Linked DNA regions of Homo sapiens: all the other regions are linked to region 3. Evidence: promoter capture Hi-C in 16 types of primary human blood cells and fetal thymus (Javierre and others, 2016). All regions are on one chromosome and are shown on one strand. Each heading gives the region's core, a stretch centred on a gene start or on the middle of the fragment in contact. The rest is flanking DNA. Distances are from core to core; before and after follow the strand shown.

Region 1 (2,700 bases), core at 35-2,534, 390 kb before region 3:
GTGGCCGAGGCAAGCAGATCATGAGGTCAGAAGTTCGAGACCAGCCTGACCAACATGGTGAAACCCCGTCTCTACTAAAAATAGAAAAATTAGCCAGGCATGGTGGCACACGCCTGTAATCACGGCTACTCAGGAGGCTGAGGCAGGAGAATCGCTTGAACCTGGGAGGCAAAGGTTGCAGTGAGCTGAGATTATGCCACTGCACTCCAGCCTGGGCAACAGAGTGAGACTCCGTCTCAAAAATATATATATATATTTTTTTGTAGGAACAATCTCACTTTGTTGCCCAGTCTGGCCTCGAACTCCTGGCTTCCACCAGTCCGCCCGCCTTGGCCTCCCAAAGTGGTGGGGTTATAGGCATGAGGCACCGTTCCTGGCCATCTAGTATCTCTTAATCAAAACCACTGTTTATCCTCACATCCCTTCCCTAACTGTATCCCCATTTCTTGGCTATAATTCTCAAGAGTTGTTTGCATATGCTTCTACTTTATCTCCCATTCACAACCACCAACATAGATACATCTCTGTTTTTTTTCCACTTTTTTGAGTGAGTAGTTTTATTTTTTTCCTGAGGAGCTGTATCAAAGTATCATAAACTGGATGGCTTAGAGCAACAAAAATTTATTTTCTCAATGTTTTGGAGGCGTGAAATTCACAATCAAGGTGTCAGCATGTCCATGCTCTTTTGAAGGCTCTGTAGAAGAATCCTTTGTTGCTTCTTCCAAGCTTCTGGTGGTTGCTGGTAATTCTTGGCATTCATTGGCTTGTAGCTGTATAACTCCAATCTCTGCCTTCATCTTCACATGACCATCTTCTCTCTTTGTGTATCCATATAATCATCATCTTTTTTTTTCGAGACAGGACCTCACTCTGTCACCCAGGCTGGAGTGTGGTGGCACAATCACAACTCACTGCAGCCTTGACCTCCCAGGCTTAGGTGATCTTTCCATCACAACCTCCTAAGTAGCTGGGACTACAGGTGTTGCAACACCATGCCCAGCTAATTTTTCTATTTTTTGTAGAGACAGGATTTTGTCATGTTGTCCAGGCTGGTCTCGAACTCCTGGGCTCATGATCCACCTGCCTCGGCCTCCCAAGTGCTGGGATTATAAGTGTGAGCCACCGTGCCCAGTCTGATCTTTACTTCTTATGAGGACTTGAGTCATTGGATTTGGGGCCCACCTTAATCCAGTATAACCTCATCTTAATTACTTCGGCAAAGACCCTGTTTCCAAATAAGGCCATATTTCACAGATACCAGGGTATAGGACTTCATATCGTTTTGAGGGACACAATTCAACACATAACATTAGTTAAGCGTCTCATGGAGTTCGGACTGGTTGGGGTGATAATATTTGTTTCTTTTTAAGAATGTGCATTTCCTGCCAGGCACAGTGGCTCATTCCTGTAATAACAGAACTTTGGGAGGCCAAGGCAGGAGGAGGACTGCTTGAGCCCAGGAGTTAGAAACCAGCCTGGGCAACAGCAAGACCCTGTCTCCATTAAAAAAAAAAAAAAAAAAAAGCCTGGCGACCTAGTCTGTGGACCCCGAATCCCTCCCATTGCCTGTTGCAACCAGTAAAGGCTGTTCCTACCATAGTAAAGAAATTAAAAAAATAAAAAAAACAGCCAACCTTGTTGGTGCATGCTTATAGTCCTAGCTACTAGGAGGCTGAGGTGGGAGTATCACTTGAGCCCAAGGAGTTCAAGGCTACAGTAAGCTGTGATCATGCCTGGATGACAGAATAAGACCCTATTTAATTTTTTTTTAAAGCATTTCGTTTTCATATTTCAAGAAAGGCCTTGAATTTGCCTGTTCCTTCAGTAGTAGATTAAGCTTACCTTTGATGTGTGCACACAAAAGTTACACTCCATTTACTTTTTAGTCTACTCTAAGCTGGTTTTACTCTCACTTTGTACCAATGCTACTCTATTTTCAAGGTCACCTCTTAACCTCTGTTTTCTTGGCTCCCTGGACCATACACTTTTGTGGCTTTCTTCCTTCATCACTGGCTACTCCTCCCTAGTCACCTTAGCTAGTGATTATTCCTTTACCCATTTTTCAAGTTTTGCTGTTTTTCAGGGCTCTGTCCTAGGCTCTTTCTCTAGTCTGCATGAATTTTGTATCTTCAGTCTACTTCTCTGCGTTCCACATTTATTAACAAATGGTCTTCATTTATATGTCTCACAGGCATCTCAAAGTTTTTTCTTAATGGAGCTTTTTGTTTCTTCCTCAGACCTGTTCCCCTTTTCTTTCCTAGTCTTTCTCCGCATTTCAATAAATGCTGTCTTTCCAATTTCTCTAGAGGAACCTAAGAGTTATCTTTTCTCTCCTTTTGCTTGTGGTGTCCCCTCCAGCCCCCATTATTTTGGCCTTGAGTTTAAGTTACATTCACTGCTACTGCAATGCTCCTGGCCACCAACACTTTTTAAAAATCTAGAATATTGCACAAGTTTCATAAAGTATCTTTATCCCCTTACTACCCATTATCCTAAGCCATTCTCCTCTTAGCGCTAAGAATGGCCTTCTTGCCGGGTGCGGTGGCTCACGCCTGTAATCCCAGCACTTTGGGAAGCCAAGGCAGGCGGATCACGAGGTCAGGAGATGGAGACCATCCTGTCTAACACGGTGAAACCCTGTCTCTACTAAAAAAGAAACCCTGTCTCTACTAAAAAATACAAAAAAAAATTAGCCGGGCT
Region 2 (2,700 bases), core at 160-2,659, 330 kb after region 3:
TTATATTTTCAGAGACAACACTTAGATTTATAAAATCTTCTGTTTTCTTTTTTATTCTTTACCTTTTGCTTTTATCTTTATTACATTTTCCTGTTTGTTTGTTTGTGTGAGATGGTGTCTCGCTCTGTTGCCTAGGCTGGAGTGCAGTGGTGGGATATCTGTTCACTGCAACCTCTGCCTCCTGGGTTCAAGCAATTCTCCTGTCTCAGCCTCCCAAGCAGCTGGGACAACAGTTGCACGCCACCGTGCCCAGCTAATGTTTTGTATTTTTAGTAGAGATGGGGTTTCACCATATTGGCCAGGCTGGTCTCAAATTCGTGACCTCAGGTGATCCACCCACCTCGGCCTCCCAAATGCTGGGATTACAGGCGTGAGCCACCTCGCCTGGCCATTTTCTTGTTTTTCTTATATTTGGTGATATTAAGAGGAACACATAGTAACATATTTTAAAATTCTTTTTTAAAAAATAAAGTACTTGGGCTGTGAGTTTTTCTTCACAATTTGACAGTCATTTTCACCCAGCACAAAAGTGGGGAGGGAGGCTAATTATAATCTTCAGGGAGGCTTTGTCATGTGAAAATATTCCAATGTCCTCCTTCCTCTTTCTCCAGTTGCCTCGCTTCAACCTTTGAAGATTACACTGTTTATTAAGAATGCTTTCTAATGAGTGTGTATTTCCCTAGTAAAAAAAAAAATGGGGTTTTGTGGAGCTTAACCATAGCTCATAAATATTCGTATGATATTCTCATTATTATTTTGGAGTTATGCTTTTCATCATTAAGTAGTTAAAAATTTTTGTTTCACTTTTAGCTTTGTTTGTGTAAATTGTATAAGTATATTGATATTTTGGTGAAATTTGAAAATGTTCCAAAACCAGTTCATGCTGCTTGAAGTTTGATGTGCCACATAGTTGACCAAACATATCAAATGTGTAAAGCATTGACTGTTGTCTTTGAAATAGAACATCAAAATGATGATTAGCCATGGACCTGGGTAGGATATAGTTTGTCTGGAAAGAGGGTCACAGAATAAGCCCTGAGAGTCTTCTTTGCTGCTGAGTCCCAGAATTTGGCACGATGTTTGGCTCCATACAGACGTGTTGAATGAATAAGAAGAGTTGCTTTGTGCCAAAGCTTAGGACCTTGGATTCAGCAGCGTTAACAATCGAGGTCCCTGATCATTTTCCATCTACTCACCCTACCAACCCCAGTTTTAATGCCTAGTTTTCATCTATTACACATGGTTATGTTTCACTGTTTGTATGAGCTGTTTTTTAATGAGGTTTATTTTGTTTTTGTTTCTGCCTTTCCACTACTTTATATTTACTCCAAAGGCTGCAAATGGTTGTGTGTGTGTGTGTGTGTGTGTGTGTGTGTGTGTATATATATATATATATATATATATATATATATATTTTAAGGGACTTAAAGGCACAGCTACAAACACATATTTGAGTAAAGTTATGACAGTAATAACATTGAACATGTATCAAGCACTTGAGGCATGTTAAACCCACTGGGTAAGCACTTTTCTTGCTCATTATCTCAGGTGATCCTCACAAAGACCACCTGCCCAAGGGCACAGCTGGAGAATGACAGAATAGAGATTTGTACCTGTAGCCCAGCTCAAAAACTGTAGTTATAACCACATCTCAGGAATCTCATAAACCAGCAACACTAAGCTTTTACAAACATTAAAAAGTGTCTTCATAGTTTCCTCAGTTTATCTGGTCTTTTTCTATCAACATTTGATATTTTCCCCTCTCTCTTGTTTGCAGTGTAAATGTTTCTTTTCTGTGACACCTTCATTCTTTACAAATGAAAGAAAATTACATCTAGATCCCAGGAACTCATTTGCTCTCGTTTGTACAAAGGGCAAGATGACATCATTTTCTATAAATTTTCTAACTGAACTCAGACTGTTTACAGATTTTAAACCTTCTGATTGATCAAAGGAGAAACTAAGCAGGAAATGTCATAATGGGTTCGGGAGGATGGCACGGGGCTATATTAAACATTTGTATGGTAAAAGCTGCAAAAATGACAGACTGTGTCTATACATTGGAGGAGAAACAGGCAAACATTTAAAACTTCACATGGTGCCTCTTTATTTTCATATGTTTTCCTGTGTATAATTTACACATGTTCATTTATAAAAATGTGGAGAAATGAATAAGGCCCAAAGTAAAGAAAATAAAATCTTATAACCCCACCTTGAGAGAAGAGCATTTGCTGACATTTTACAGTATTTGTATCTAGAATTTTATTTCTGCATATAAATTTTTTTCAAATATGACTTACACCGTATATTCAGTTTTGCAGTTTGCTTTTTTTCTTTTAAATATGTTTCATTGTGTCGTTTTAAAATATTTCAAGGACTTAAAAGCAGTTATTTTATCCTTCTTTTCCTCCTTCTACCTTTAAAGAAACTTAGTTTAAAACCCACTTTAATAACAAAATTATAGAGACTGAGAACAGAATAGTGGTTTCCAAAGAATAGTAACAGGAATAAGTGGTGGGTGTCACTACAAAGGAGTAGAATGAGGAGGTCTTTGGTTTCATGGAACAGTTCTGTATCATGATTGCAGTGGTGCTCATTCTAATCTATACGGAGAATCAAGTTGCGAAGAACTATACACACAGGTTGGGGGAAGTGAAAGTCCCAGAGGGAACTAGGGGCCCCAGAAGGGAGTGCTTTAAA
Region 3 (2,700 bases), core at 173-2,672:
CCAGGCGTGGTGGTGCGCGCCGGTAGTCCCAGCTACTCGGGAGGCTGAGGCACAAGAATCGCTTGAACCAGGAGGTGGAGGTTGCAGTGAGTTGAGATCGCACCACTGCACTCCGGCCTGAGTGACAGAGCAAGGCTCTGTCTCAAAAAGAAAAAGAAATCATTTAAAAAATTTCATGTGTGACCCTACCAAATAACCTTTAAAAACAAAAGCAGAAAAACCAAATTGTTTGTGTAAGCATATATTCTACCTATAAACTACATTCCAGGTCACAAGTCAATATTCCATCTTTCAACTCATCCAAAAAAAAAAAAAAAAGGGGTTAAACAAGCTGCAGCAGCACCGCCCTACATACAGTACATCCACGGTCAACGACTTCATCAACTACTAGAAACTTGCACAGACTCTGTTCCTAGTTAGGAACAAATGTACACTATTGATAAACTTCACCTTTACAATTAACAAGAACTCCTGTGTGCAATTACTTACCCTCCACTGAGTGGGCGACAATAAGAGTGCCTATTTCAGAGATTACATTTAGTGTCTGTACTAAGGCAACCGGATGCAAAACAACTTACTCTGCGGCTACCCACTTGAGAGGGCAAAGGTGGACTGGGAAGGCCAGCCAGCCGGGCGTCTCTAAGGTTTAACGAGACGCGAGCTCGGGCTTGGCGTTTCTCATCCTCATCTTGGGGCTGTAACAACACCCTGGAAGCGTCTGTGGTTGAAAATGCGGAACACCTGGCGTCTCCCAAGGCGCTCCCCAGTCCGCCCCGCATCGGGCCGGCTTCCACATTCACCCTGTCAAGGGCACGTCCCCTCTCCATAGGCTGGGGAGCGCTGCACCCCGCAAGCGCACGAGGCGCCGGCTCGGCCCCAGGCCCAACAGGTGCGGGTCCGGGTCCGCGCGGGTGCGTGCCCCCACGTACCTTCGAGGGGTGTTGAGGAGCCGCTGCTGCTCGTCCCCCTCCTCCTCATCCTCGTCCGTCTCCGAGTCAGGGTGACAGTAGCAGAAGGACCCGCTGCTCCGCTTGCGCTTGTGGCTGCCCGCACAGTAACAGAATCCGTGGCCCGCCGCATCGTCTCCAGTGTCCGGCCTCCGGGCCGAGCCCCCCGCCCTGGCACCCTGCGCCTGCTGGGCAAGGGCTGGTCTTGGCTGGCGCAGCACCCGGCTGCTCAACGATCCCATGGGTCACGGCTCCCCGAGACTTCAGGGAGCCCAGAGAAGGGGGTCTCCCGCCATGGCTCGGCCGCCGCCGCCAGCCTTCCCCGAGCGCAGGTGCCTACACCGCCACCTTCTCACGCGCAGCCCCAACCGTTGCAGCGGACGCCACAGTCTCCATCCTCTTCCCCGCCCGCAGCGTCCGGTCGCGCCGCGCTCTAGCACCGCAGCACCTCGCCCCCTCGCTTTCGCAACAAAGCGCGGGACGGAGGGCGCATGCGTACGGCGAGCCTCCGGAAGGGGCGGGGCAAGGCGTGCGTGCGTGGCAGGTGGAGCCTGCGCACAATCCGGCGCGCCAGTGCAGGCTGGTGTTTTCGGGCCTGCGGTGGGCGTGGCCTCTGACTAACCCGAACTTCGGCGTAGACGTAGTGTTAAACCGTGGTTCATACGCGCCTCTGTAGTGGCAAGACCTGGGACTCCAGTCACTCATTGTTTCTACAAAGGTGCCTTGAGTCCCCGGTGCTTATGGGCCTGTGCTAAGCTAGTGGCAAAACCCCGAAGCTATTTGGTCTCCTTGCGGGAGCTCGGCGCTTGCTGGGGCCACGCTCTGCTTGCTTGGGCGTGGCCTCCTGTGAGAGGGGGCCCTAGGATGAGGCGATATGCTGGATTCCTGGGCTTCCTTAACATGAGCCCTCCCCTGCTGTAGACGTGAATGGAACCCGTTAAGTTATGGGAACGTTCCCGGCACTCCTTTCCTTTCCTCTCAAGTGCCAGTGGGATGTCCGAATAGGGTCTGGCACCATGACTGTCTGGACTCAAAAGTGCCTTCAGGAGGCCCTAGCAAAATTTACTAGTGTCTGCTTGGAGTAGTAGCAGCTCTTGTGATGGACTCCGGACAGCCAGCGTTCATTCCCTGACTCCCTTCTGTTACTTTTTAAGTAAAATAATGAAAATATTTCAAATAGAGTAATACAGATTCCTGTGGACCGACCACTAGCTTGAAATTTTATCAGACTTGCTTTCATTCTTTTTTCCTCCCAGCTTTATTGAGGTGTAATCAATGATTCATTCTTTTTTAAATAGAACAATACATATAGGCAGAAGCCCCTGCGTACCTCCTCCATCTCATTCTGTCTCCCTCCCCAGTGGCAATCACTGTGCTGAGAATGTTGTATATCATGTCCATGCATGTCCTTATATGCATACCCATAAATAATATTTTCTTTTGCATGTTTAGACATATCATGGAATGGAATCATAGTTGTACCTCTCATTGTGCACCTTTCTCCTCTCTCAAAATTATACTCTCAAGATTTATCCATTTGGTCAATCGCTAGATAATTTTCACTGCTCATTGTATGACTGACCCATATTTGTTTTTACATTCCTTAGTGAGAGAGGTTATTTCTACTTTAACGGCCTTACAGAGCAGCAATGAACATCATGTGCAATGGATTCACCAAGCAGATTCCCAAAAGTGAATTTGCTGCGAAATCTGCAACTTTGTTAGCTATTACCAAATTGCTCTCTGGGTTGAT
Region 4 (2,700 bases), core at 188-2,687, 340 kb before region 3:
GTCACCAGTTTCAGATCTAGCCAGTCTCTGCTTGTTGCCTTAAAAGTATCCTATTAGCAGCCGGGTGCGGTGGCTCATGCCTGTAATCCCAGCACTTTGGGAGGCTGAGGCGGGCGGATCACGAGGTCAGAAGATTGAGACCATCCTGGCTAACACAGTGAAACCCCATCTCTACTAAAAATACAAAAAAATTAGCCAGGTGTGGTGGCGGGTGCCTGTAGTCCCAGCTACTCGGGAGGCTGAGGCAGGAGAATGGCGTGAACCCAGGAGGTGGAGCTTACAGTGATCTGAGATTGCACCACTGCACTCCAGCCTGGGTGACTAAGTGAGACTCCATCTCAAAAAAAAAAAAAAAGGATCCTATAGCTGGGCATGGTGGCAGAGGCCTGTAGTCCCAACTACTCAGGAGGCTGAGGTAGGTGAATCACTTGTCGCCCAGGCTGGAGTGCAGTGGCGTGATCTTGGCTCACTGTAATCTCCACCTCCCAGGTTCAAGCAATTCTCCTGCCTCAGCCTCCCAAGTAGCTGGGATTACAGGCACGCACCACCATGCCTGGCCAATTTTTTGTATTTTTAGTAGAGATGGGGTTTCACCATGTTAACCAGGCTGGTCTTGAACTCCTGACCTCAGGTGATCCACCTACCTCGGCCTCCCAAAGTGCTGGGATTACAGGCGTGAACCACCGTGCCCAGCCCAGAAAACAGAATATTGATAATACTATAAGCTAAACACTTGTAGTCCTCTTCCATCCCATCCTATTCCCTCTTCCATCCCATTCCTGTACCACCCTCTATTCCATCTTACCATCTCCATTACTACCACCTTTGTCCAGGTTTCCATCAGCTCGCTCCTTGACTATGAGTGTGTGTGTTTTACCTTTTTGAAGTTAATTCTTTTTTATTTTTTGAGACAGTCTTGCTCTGTCACACAGGCTGGAGTGCAGTGGTACAATCTCAGTTCACTGCAACCTCCACCTCCCAGGCTCAAGAAATTCTCGTGTTTCAGCCTCCTGAGTAGCTGGGATTATAGGCATGTGTCACCACTCCTGGCTAATTTTTGTATTTTTAATAGAGACAGGGTTTCACCATGTTGGCCAGGCTGGTCTCGAACTTCTGACCTCAAGTGATCCGCCTGCCTAGGCCTCCCAAAGTGTTGGAATTACAGGTGTGAGCCACCACACCTGGTCTGGACAGAATTTTTAAGAAAGACTGAACTCACTTGACCCCCTCCCCTTAACTCTTTTTGTTGACCTAATGTCTGACAAGTTTCTTTTCTTTTTTTTTTTTTGAGACAGAGTCTCACTCTGTCGCCCAGGCTGGAGTGCAGTGGCGTGATCTTGGCTCACTGCAACCTCCGCCTCCCAGGTTCAGGCGATTCTCCTGCCTCAGCCTCCCAAGTAGCTGGGACTACAGGCGCATGCCACCATGCCCGGCTAATTTTTTGTATTTTTAGTAGAGATGGAGTTTCACCATGTTAGCCAGGATGGTCTCAATTTCCTGACCTGGTGATCCACCTGCCTCATCCTCCCAAAGGGCTGGGATTACAGGTGTGAGCCACTGTGCCTGGCCGCAAGGTTCTTTAAGAGGTTGGTTAAGTACTTTCAAGTATTTTACCTGCCTTGAGGTCATATTCAGAGAGAAAGACAGATGCTTGCTGGGTAAGCAGTGTCCTAACTTGTAGTCCCTCAGCATTCATGGTGCTGACCATCGGGTGAGAGAGCATGTCATTAGTTTGCTTAGACATGAATGCAAATAGCAAGAACCTGGGGATAGCGAGCAAAAGGGAATCAAGTGGAGGCAGCCACCTCGGCCTCATTGTTCTCATCCCATCTTACTTCGCATACCCTTTAAGGGGGAAAGTCTGTGCTGTGTTGGTCTTTTTAAAATTTGCGGATTTGAAATGTTATACTTGGTGGATGACAAGGGTCTACTGTGTTGGTTTGTTTTTTCATTGTCTTTTTTCTTTTTTTTCAGTGGAGTCTCACCCTGTTGCCCAAGCTAGAGTGCAGTGGCATGATCTCGGCTCACTGCAACCTCTGCCTCCTGGGTTCAAGCGATTCTCCTGCCTCAGCTTCCTGAGTAGCTGGAATTACAGGCACACACCACCATGCCCAGCTAATTTTTTTTTTTTTTTTTTTTTTTAGTAGAGATGGGTTTTCACCATGTTGGCCAAGCTGGTCTCGAACTCCTGACCTCAGGTAATCCACCCACCTCGGCCTCCCAAAGTGCTGGGATTACAGGTGTGAGTCACCACGCCTGGCCTCTCTTTTCTTTTCTTTTTTTTTCCTTTTTGAGGGAGGGTCTCACTCTGTTGCCCAGGCTGGAGTGCAGTGGCGTGATCATGGCTTACTGCAGCCTCAACCTCCTCGACTCAGTTGATCCTCCCACCTCAGCCTCCCAAGTAGCTGGGACAGCAGGTGCATACCACCACGCCTGGCTAATTTAAAAAAAAATTTTGGCCAGGCACGGTGGCTCACGCCTGTAATCCCAGCACTTTGGGTGGCCGAGGTGGGTGGATCACGAGGTCAGGAGTTTGAGACCAGCCTGGCCAACATGGTGAAACCCCATCTCTACTAAAAATACAAAAATTAGCCAGGCGTGGTGGTGCACGCCTGTAGTCACAGCTACTCAGGAGGCTGAGGCAGGAGGATTGCTTGAACCCGGGAGGCAGAGGTTGCAGTGAGCCGAGATCATGCCATT
Region 5 (2,700 bases), core at 140-2,639, 370 kb before region 3:
AATCTAAATCACTAGCGTCTCAATCCATCTTATACTTTTCCTTTATAGCATTTGTCATAATTTTTAATTCTATTTAATTATTCATGTAGTTATTTATTTAAAACCTGTCCTCCCCACTAAACTAAAGTACTGATGACTATTTCCTTTTTTTTTTTTTTTTTCTTTGAGACAGAGTCTTGCTCTGTCTCCCAGGCTGGAGTGCAGTGGCACAATCTCGGCTCACTGAAACCTCTACCTCCAGGGTTCAAGTGATTCTTCTGCCTCAGCCTCCCAAGTAGCAGGGATTACAGGTGCATGCCACCACGCCTAGCTAATTTTTGTATTTTTAGTAGAAACGGGGTTTCACCATGTTGGCCACGCTGGTCTCGAACTCCTGCCCTCAAGTGATCTGCCAGCCTCAGCCTCCCAAAGTGCTGGGATTACAGGCATGAGCCACTGCTCCTGGCCTGGTGACTATTTCTTCAATGCCATAATATCCAGTACATGGTAAATAATAAAGCTTAATAAATGTTGAATTAATTGATTAATGAATGAGTTAATTAAATTGTTATTTCAAACAATCTAGTTTTGACCAAATGGCTTTCCACCTCGTGTGGACAGTACTACCAGCTGGAGTACTGGGAGTAAGTTAATAAAAAGCTGGCATTGAAGGACCAAATCAGGGCCAAGTTCTTTAAGCCATGTGATGTCATTTAAACTTTTTTTATCCTGAAGACCCCAGGGAGCCACTGATCCAATTTGTATTTAGTCAAGACGTGTTCCAGGTTGCAGACTTGATGAGCAGTTAGATGCATGGTGGATCCTTAGTTACTGGGATGTGAGAAGGCAGAGAAGCATGTTTGTGAGAGTGAGTAAGGACAGGAGCTATCATGGTGAGAGAGCAGGAGATGAGAGCAAATTAGTCTTACCTTTTTTTTTTTCAGACAGAGTCTCACTCTGTTGCCCAGGCTGGAGTGCAGTGTGTGATCTCGGCTCACTGCAGCCTCCGTCCGCCTCCTGGGTTCAAGCAATTCTCGTGCCTCAGCCTCCCAAGTGGCTGGGATTACAGGTATGTGCCACCACACCCAGTTAATTTTTGTATTTTGGGTAGAGACGGGGTTTCGCCATGTTGGCTAGGCTAGTCTTGAACTCCTGACCTCAGGTGATCCGCCTGCCTTGGCCTCCCAAAGTGCTGGGATTACAAGCGTGAGCCACCTCGCCTGGCCTTATCTTTCGATATGTGAGATTGGACGTGGGTGACACAGGTAGAAATATCCAGTAGGTAATGACATGGAATTTCGGAGGGTGATCTGGGCTGGATATAGAAATGGGAATCGTCTGTGTTTACGTGTTAGTTCAACCCTTGGAGTAGAGATCACCAAGTGAGATGAGGACTGTGGATAAAACTCAGGATCATTAGTGTTCAAGGAGGCAGAGGCAGGCCGGGTGCGGTGGCTCATGCCTGTAATCCCAGCAATTTGGAAGGCTGAGGTGGGCAGATCACTTGAGCCCAGGAGTTCAAGACCAGCCTGGGCAACATAGCAAGACCTCATCTCTACAAAAAATTAAAAAAAAATAGCCAGGCATGGTGGCATGTGCCTGTGGTTCCACCTGCTCAGGAGGCTGATGTAGGAGGATCATTTGCGTCCAGGAGGTTGAGACTGCAGTGAGCTGTGATCATGCCTCTGCACTGCAGCCTGGGCAACAAAACAAGACCCTGTCTCAAGAAAAAAAAAAAAGAGAATTCATGTGTTTTTGTGCATGTCTATACTGTTTTTCTAGGATACTTAGAAATTGAATGGGTTAAGGAAATGTGAATTGTAAAAATTGTATTGTATAGTGCCAAATTACCCTCTTAAAATGCTGTATATCAAAAAAAAAAAAAAAAAAAAAAAGGCTGTATACCAGCTGGGAGCGGTGGCTCACATCTATAATCCCAGCACTTTGGGAGGCCAAGGCAGGTGGATTCCCCCGAGGTCAGGAGTTCGAGACCAACATGGTGGTTGGTCAACATGGTGAAACCCTGTCTCTACTAAAAATACAAAAATCAGCCAGGCGTGGTGGCGCACACCTGTAGTCCCAACTACTGGGGAGGCTGAGTCAGGAGAATTGCTTGAACCTGGGAGGTGGAGGTTGTAGTGAGGCAAGATTAGGTCATTGCACTCCAGCCTGGCTGACAGAGCGAGACTTCATCTCAGAAAAAAAAAGGTCATATACCGTTTTACGCTCCAACCATTTATGTCAGAAAGCTCTTATTTCCCTTACATTCCTTCACCAATGCTGGTTGTTATCAAGCTTTTATCTTTTGCCAATCCAATGAATGTAAAATAATCTCTTTAGCTGTATTTCCCTGATTACAAGTAAAGTTAGTCATTTTTCATGATAATTGGCCATTTGTATTTATTTCTGTGAGATATCTGTTCATATCCTTTGTCTATTTCTTCATTAGATTGTTTCACTGTTTTTTTTTATCAATTAGTAAGAATCCCTTATATAGTTTGATATGCAAAAATCCTCTCTGAAAAAATGTGTCCTCCACCGAGGTCACTCAGGATTACCTCAGATTAAAATAATCATTTGAAGCCAGGTGTGGTGGCTCACACCTGTAATCCCAGCACGTTGGGAGGCTGCGGTGGGTGAATCACAAGGTCAAGAGATCAAGATCATCTGGCCAACATGGTGAAACCCTGTCTCTACTAAAAATACAAAAATTAGCTGTGT
Region 6 (2,700 bases), core at 10-2,509, 360 kb after region 3:
CTAACCTATGCAAAGAAGTTACCAAATGGTGGTAGTTGCTAGAATTAAAGACACGTTCTTGGTTCACACTTTGATGTAGTGACCTGAATTTACTCTTTTCCTGTGAGTATTCTACTCTGCCCTATTGCACTCTCCTTTGTCATGTGGATGTGTGTTTATCATAGGTCTTTAACGCGTCCTTCCCAAGAAGACAAAGCATACAGTTGTACATGAAGATATCTTATGCAGTAAAAACGTGAAATTTGAACATTGCTGCACAAGTATTGTATAAAAAAAAGTCTGTAAAGAACTTTCTTATGTAAACATACAGGGGAATAAAGACTTTTATCTGTTCAAATGGGAGCATGATGTTTAGAGATGTAAATAACTTAAAATAAGTTGCTCTTTTCCTGAGCTGAAAACCCACTTTTTTGCAGAAAGGATTTAATCACAGTATTGAGTGACAATAAGTACCTGGGCACAAGAAAAGTATAGCTACACACTGAGGACATATTAATGAATCATGGCTACCTGAGAGAGTAAAACCCCTGTTTTAGTCTCAAGGAGAATAAGACGCCTGCCAGCCTACACTGGATATGACCAGACTCAGGGTTGTAAAATGGAGCGCAGGTTTGCAGCTTCCCTCCTCTAACTTAATCCCTAATATACCCAGGCCAACTTAATTAAACATTTTGTGTTGGCAAGAATAATTTTATCCCCAGTGAGAAAACTCACTCATTTAATTGCCTCATTGGCCTGAGAGGCACAGCTGGCCATTTTTGGCTTCCATGAGGTCCCTCATTTCCCAGTCGTGGGTTTTAATGCAGCTACCTAATATATGGTGGAACCAAATGCTTAATTTTGTTATGTGAGCTAGAAGGTCATGGTAATTATTAGTTTGATGTACGTCTCTTGATTTCCCCAGTTTGGTTCTAAAATTTTACGTTTCAATTGCTGCTGCATTTCCAAGTTCTTGTGAAGGGATATTTTGCTTTCTGTTTACTAACTATATGTGAGAAGGCTTCTTCTCAATGCTCCAAGTCTTCGTTTTCTGTTTTTGGCAAGAATCATATCTTTGATACTCCCTGTAACCGTTCTTTCAGTTTTTGGTATGAGGAAAAGTAAACTTCTGGTGTTGTGTGATGTATTTCATTAAGGAATATCCAGCCTGACATTTAAGTCTTCAGATTTTAATTCTGTAGGGAGCATTCTGATGGCCCTCACTATGTCAATCAGATGGAGTTTCCAGGGGAAACCCATCCTAAATGATTCAGCACTTTGGGTTGCTTTGGAAGTGAATAGGGAGCTGGTGAGGATAGTTGCCAAGTTGTCAGGTATTTTAGGAACTCCTTCTCTTCCCTGAAGCATGTGAGTTCTTGCTGAAATCTACATAATTTGGAGCCTCAAAATAGACTAATATGGAGTTACCCATATTGAAAGTGTCAACGTGCCTAACCTGGCACACAGTCCTACATCAGAGCAAGAAAAAGAAGTATGTTTTGACTTCTTGCTTAATTTTATGTGTGAAACCAAAATAAAAAGAGGCATGATCCAGTTTGAGGGAATTATAACAAAACCCTACGTTAGGCTCTATGATAAGTAAGACCCTGTGCAGACTATGAAGCCAGGCCCTGGGCTTTAGCCCCTGAGGTACAACAGGCAGTGTTTACTGAGCTCTATGGCCACAGGGTATCTGCTATGACGTGCCATTGGTTACCAAAGGAACTGGGTCAAGGCATGTGGTTAGGTTAGTATAAATCCTTCAATGCTAGTAAAGAGACTGCTTCAAACACGTTTTCTTGTTGACACAATGCTACCTTCATATAAAGGAACTGTTCACCCTGAAAACACATTTTCCCTGTAAGAACACATTCACATACTCAAAAAAAGACTTTTATCTGCCAACAAGATTTAATGGTTACCTTCTGTTTCTAGTATATTTGGAATTTATCCTTCTCTCGACTACCTTGTTTCTGGTGCTGCCACCACCAGAATTCCTTAAGGGAATGTGGAGGTCTGGGCTTCCCCCATATTCTCTGGCATTTCTTTGCCCTTCAGAGTGCCAGGCCTGGAGAGTTGCAAAGTGTGGTTGCTCTCCGCCTCAGCCACACTGTACCTCCTCTAACAAGAATAGAAAGGTTAAGGGACTTGGCCTTCTCAGGACAACCCTTTAAATGTACTTTTCCATTCCTACAAAGCCTGTTGATGCTGAAAGAAAGATAGGAAATAGCTCTTGTCCTTGTTTTGAAGGACAGGAGACTAATTTTCCCTTCAAACTTGATATTCTGGTGTTTTTGTGACTGTTTTTGTAAATTATTCAAAGTTGTTGGAATTTTAAGTCTGATTTTCCCAGTACTCATCATGAAGGTCATAGAATATGCTCTGAGTTGGAAGGTTTTCCAAATGGGTTCTCGACCAAAAACCCACTTTTTAACAAATAATTTTGATGGGTTAGACATGTTCTTCCATCCTCTCCAACCCTGAATATGGGCACATACACACACCCCTTGGTACTTCCTAGTTCTCAAAATGTAATCTAGCACTTCAGGCATCCAAAGTGCCCCTGGTTCAATAGATAGCTGCTTTTTTGCCAGTCTCTGTGCACAAATTGTTTTAACTGAATTCAGTTTAAATTTCCAAAAAACACTGACTCTGTTCAAACTAGTGTTCATTGGATTATTGACCTGTATGATGCCAGAGTTGGTCACTGGCTTGACTAAG
Region 7 (2,700 bases), core at 20-2,519, 390 kb after region 3:
GAAGATAGTTTCTCCCCTTAATGAGTATGCAGTCTAGCAAGAAAAATATATTAACAAATAATGACAGTCATGAGTGCTGTAATAGATTCATGTAATTTAAAGTGGTGTGCCGGGCGTGGTGGCTCACGCCTGTAATCCCAGCACTTTGAGAGGTCAAGCTGGGCGGATTGGCTGAGGTCAGGAGTTCGAGACCAGTCTGGCCAACATGGTGAAACTAAAAAAAAAAAAAAAAAAGCTGGGCGTGGTGGTGTGTGCCTGTAATCCCAGCGAGTTGGGAGGCTGAGGCAGGGGAATTGCTTGAACCAGGGAGGTGGAGGTTGCAGTGAGCCAAGATCACGCCACTGCACTTCAGCCTGGGTGACAGAGTGAGAAAAGCGAGATTATTTCCATCTCAAAATAAAGTGGTGACAGCTCTTACTGTGATCAACACTGGAGCTAGTGTGGGGAGTGGCAGTCAGGACTTCACAGATTATTTGATTCCCATTCAGTGTTGATTCCATTGTTCTCTTGAATCCTCGGTGCCAATCCTTTTATCTCTCCAATAGCATCTAAGAAACTCTATGGGTTACAGTCCCACAGTATCCCAGTAGTCTTTTGCTTATCAATGGCATATAAAGATTATTGAAGGTAGTAAACAGTTCATCTGTATTTTGTTAATACTTAATTGGTGCCCACTCTTTCTTTTCCACGAGAAGAATTCCAGTTTTGTGAGAGAGAGAAAAAAATGTGGCAGCCGCTGTTGCTTCTTGCCTATTTTAAGCAGAAGATAATTAGATAAATGTGATCTTGTGTATGATCACAAACAATTTTGGCCTTTGGAAAAAATTTTAACAGAAAATTATGACAGTGAAAGACCGTTCTAACTGACCATCATTTTGCCTTTAACCTCTAGACTGCCCATTCCCGGGCTTGGGCCAAGCTAACTTTGGGAGACATTTAGTTTATAGTTTAAATGATAATAGCCCTTTCCCAAAATTAAACCACCTTTATAAAGCTAATGAAAGACCACCAGGTTTGGAGGATGAGAGGAGCCTGAATTCTGCTAAGGTGTAGATGTAAATGATTACCAGCCATTATTCTGGCGGTCCTAAGAGTTGCAACTTCCCCAATTACTCCTGCAGAAAACATCTCTCTTGTAGAACCTAAGATTAGCCTTTTCAGGTTTTTGCATTTCTGACTGGTCCTGTGGCCCCGCCCACAAACGGGCTGAGCACTCAGGAGGATCATTTTCCGCACCCCTATGATTGCATCCCCAACCAGTCAGCAACACCCGTTCCCTGGCCTGCCAGTCTATCCTTGAAAACCCCTAGCCTCAGATCCAGAGAGACTGAGTACTAAAACTCCACTCTCCCTTTCAGCTGGCTCCATGTGAATTAAACTCTTTATTGCAAATCCCCTGTCTTGATGAATTAGCAGTATCTGGACAGTGGGCAAAGTGAACCCATTGGCAATTATAAATGACTCCTGTACTTAAAATTTTTCTATGGCTCCTATGAAGTGGCAGTGGTAATGGATAGCGATGATATTTTCAAGTAAACCGGATTTTAAAGTAAATTGCATTGGGATTTTAAGAATTTTTACTATTAAAGTCTCCTTTTACTTCCTTTTCCAGTAATATTTGCTTTCATTTTCTTCCTTTGTTTTCAGTTTGTCAAAGCCATAAAAAATAGCCAATTAAGTTTTCTCTGTAAGAGTGAAGTAAAGTTAGAGGCCTGGCGCTGTGGCTCACGCCTGTAATCCCAGCACTTTGGGAGGCCGAGGCTAGTGGATCATGAGGTCAGGAGTTCAAGACCAGCCTGGCCAAGATGGTGAAACCCTGTCTCTACTAAAAATACAAAAATTAGCCGGGCATGGTGGTGGGCATCTATAATCCCAGCTACTTGGGAGGCTGAGGCGGAGAATTGCTTGAACCCAGGAGGCGGAGGTTGCAGTGAGCCAAGATCGCACCACTGCACTCCATCCTGGGCGACAGAGCAAGACTCCGTCTCACAAAAAAAAAAAGAAAAAAAAAAGTGAAGTGAAGTTACAACACTGGGTTAATATGTTTCCATCCAAAAAGCATATAAAAGGCAGGGCATGGTGGCTCACGCCTATAATCCCAGCACTTTGGGAGGCCAAAGTGGGAGGATTACTTGAGCCAGGAGCTGGAGATCAGCCTGAGCAACATAGTGGTAATCCATCTCTACCAGAAGTAAAAAAAAAAAAAAAAACTAGCTGGGCATGGTGGCATACAGCTGTAGTGTCACCTACTTGGGAGGCTGAGGTGGGAGAATCACTTGAGCCTAGGATGTTGAGGCTGCAGTGAGCCCTGATCACACCATTGTACTCCAGCATGGGTGACAGAACAAGACCCTGTCTCAAAACAAAACACGAAAAGCGTGATCAAGATCGTTGGCTGTGTAATCCCAGCATTTTGGGAGGCCAAGGCAGGTGGATCACTTTAGGTCAGGAGTTGGAGATCAGCCTGGCCAACGTGGTGAAACCCTGTCTCTACTAAAAATATAAAAATTAGCCGGGTGTGATGGTGTACACCTGTAATCCCAGCTACTAGGGAGGCTGAGGCAAGAGAATCACTTGAACCCAGGAGGTGGAGGTTGCAGTAAGCTGGGATCGCATCACTGCACTCCAGCGTGGGCGACAAAGTGAGACTCAGTCTCAAAAAAAAAAGACGGGCCAGGTGTGGTGTCTCATGCCTGTAAT

The links. Contacts are between HindIII fragments. The CHiCAGO score rates a contact against its expected background, and 5 or more counts as called.
Region 1: a contact is called between a fragment that was not itself captured here and the fragment with the promoter of GMCL1 in region 3, in 1 of 17 cell types (fetal thymus). The highest score is 5.3, in fetal thymus.
Region 2: a fragment that was not itself captured here is called in contact with the fragment with the promoter of GMCL1 in region 3 in 3 of 17 cell types (non-activated CD4 T cells, total CD8 T cells and total CD4 T cells); the score reaches 6.5 in non-activated CD4 T cells.
Region 4: a fragment that was not itself captured here is called in contact with the fragment with the promoter of GMCL1 in region 3 in 2 of 17 cell types (neutrophils and naive CD8 T cells); the score reaches 6.7 in neutrophils.
Region 5: a contact is called between a fragment that was not itself captured here and the fragment with the promoter of GMCL1 in region 3, in 2 of 17 cell types (fetal thymus and erythroblasts). The highest score is 5.4, in fetal thymus.
Region 6: a contact is called between a fragment that was not itself captured here and the fragment with the promoter of GMCL1 in region 3, in 3 of 17 cell types (total CD8 T cells, naive CD8 T cells and total CD4 T cells). The highest score is 6.0, in total CD8 T cells.
Region 7: a fragment that was not itself captured here is called in contact with the fragment with the promoter of GMCL1 in region 3 in 4 of 17 cell types (naive CD4 T cells, total CD8 T cells, naive CD8 T cells and 1 more); the score reaches 8.6 in naive CD4 T cells.

The regions. Positions count from the first base shown.
Region 1 is chr2:70,218,563-70,221,262 of GRCh38, reverse strand. All of the region lies in intron 7 of TIA1 (TIA1 cytotoxic granule associated RNA binding protein), which reads left to right. Among named protein-coding and RNA genes, the nearest start is that of TIA1, 29 kb to the left of the region's middle. The HindIII fragment of the contact is 1,111 bases long and covers 729-1,839 here.
Region 2 is chr2:69,499,379-69,502,078 of GRCh38, reverse strand. All of the region lies in intron 16 of AAK1 (AP2 associated kinase 1), which reads left to right. Among named protein-coding and RNA genes, the nearest start is that of SNORA36C, 19 kb to the left of the region's middle. The HindIII fragment of the contact is 548 bases long and covers 1,136-1,683 here.
Region 3 is chr2:69,828,382-69,831,081 of GRCh38, reverse strand. GMCL1 (germ cell-less 1, spermatogenesis associated) reads right to left here and starts at 1,422. Exons shown (of 14, transcript NM_178439.5): 1 at 930-1,422. The coding sequence starts at 1,189. It overlaps LOC124906021 (a long non-coding RNA gene), which reads left to right and starts at 1,551. Exons shown (of 2, transcript XR_007086846.1): 1 at 1,551-2,700. RefSeq lists silencers at 758-933, 881-960, 1,341-1,570 and enhancers at 544-1,464, 1,981-2,070, 1,465-2,386. The HindIII fragment of the contact is 7,336 bases long and covers 1-2,700 here.
Region 4 is chr2:70,165,946-70,168,645 of GRCh38, reverse strand. The region is part of intron 6 of C2orf42 (chromosome 2 open reading frame 42); the gene reads left to right. Among named protein-coding and RNA genes, the nearest start is that of C2orf42, 24 kb to the left of the region's middle. The HindIII fragment of the contact is 4,037 bases long and covers 1-2,700 here.
Region 5 is chr2:70,196,628-70,199,327 of GRCh38, reverse strand. No RefSeq gene overlaps it. Among named protein-coding and RNA genes, the nearest start is that of C2orf42, 7.0 kb to the right of the region's middle. The HindIII fragment of the contact is 1,775 bases long and covers 502-2,276 here.
Region 6 is chr2:69,468,561-69,471,260 of GRCh38, reverse strand. It overlaps AAK1 (AP2 associated kinase 1), which reads left to right. Exons shown (of 22, transcript NM_014911.5): 22 at 1-2,700. Among named protein-coding and RNA genes, the nearest start is that of NFU1, 32 kb to the right of the region's middle. The HindIII fragment of the contact is 2,984 bases long and covers 1-2,700 here.
Region 7 is chr2:69,433,451-69,436,150 of GRCh38, reverse strand. The region is part of intron 1 of NFU1 (NFU1 iron-sulfur cluster scaffold); the gene reads left to right. Among named protein-coding and RNA genes, the nearest start is that of NFU1, 2.6 kb to the left of the region's middle. The HindIII fragment of the contact is 4,427 bases long and covers 1-2,700 here.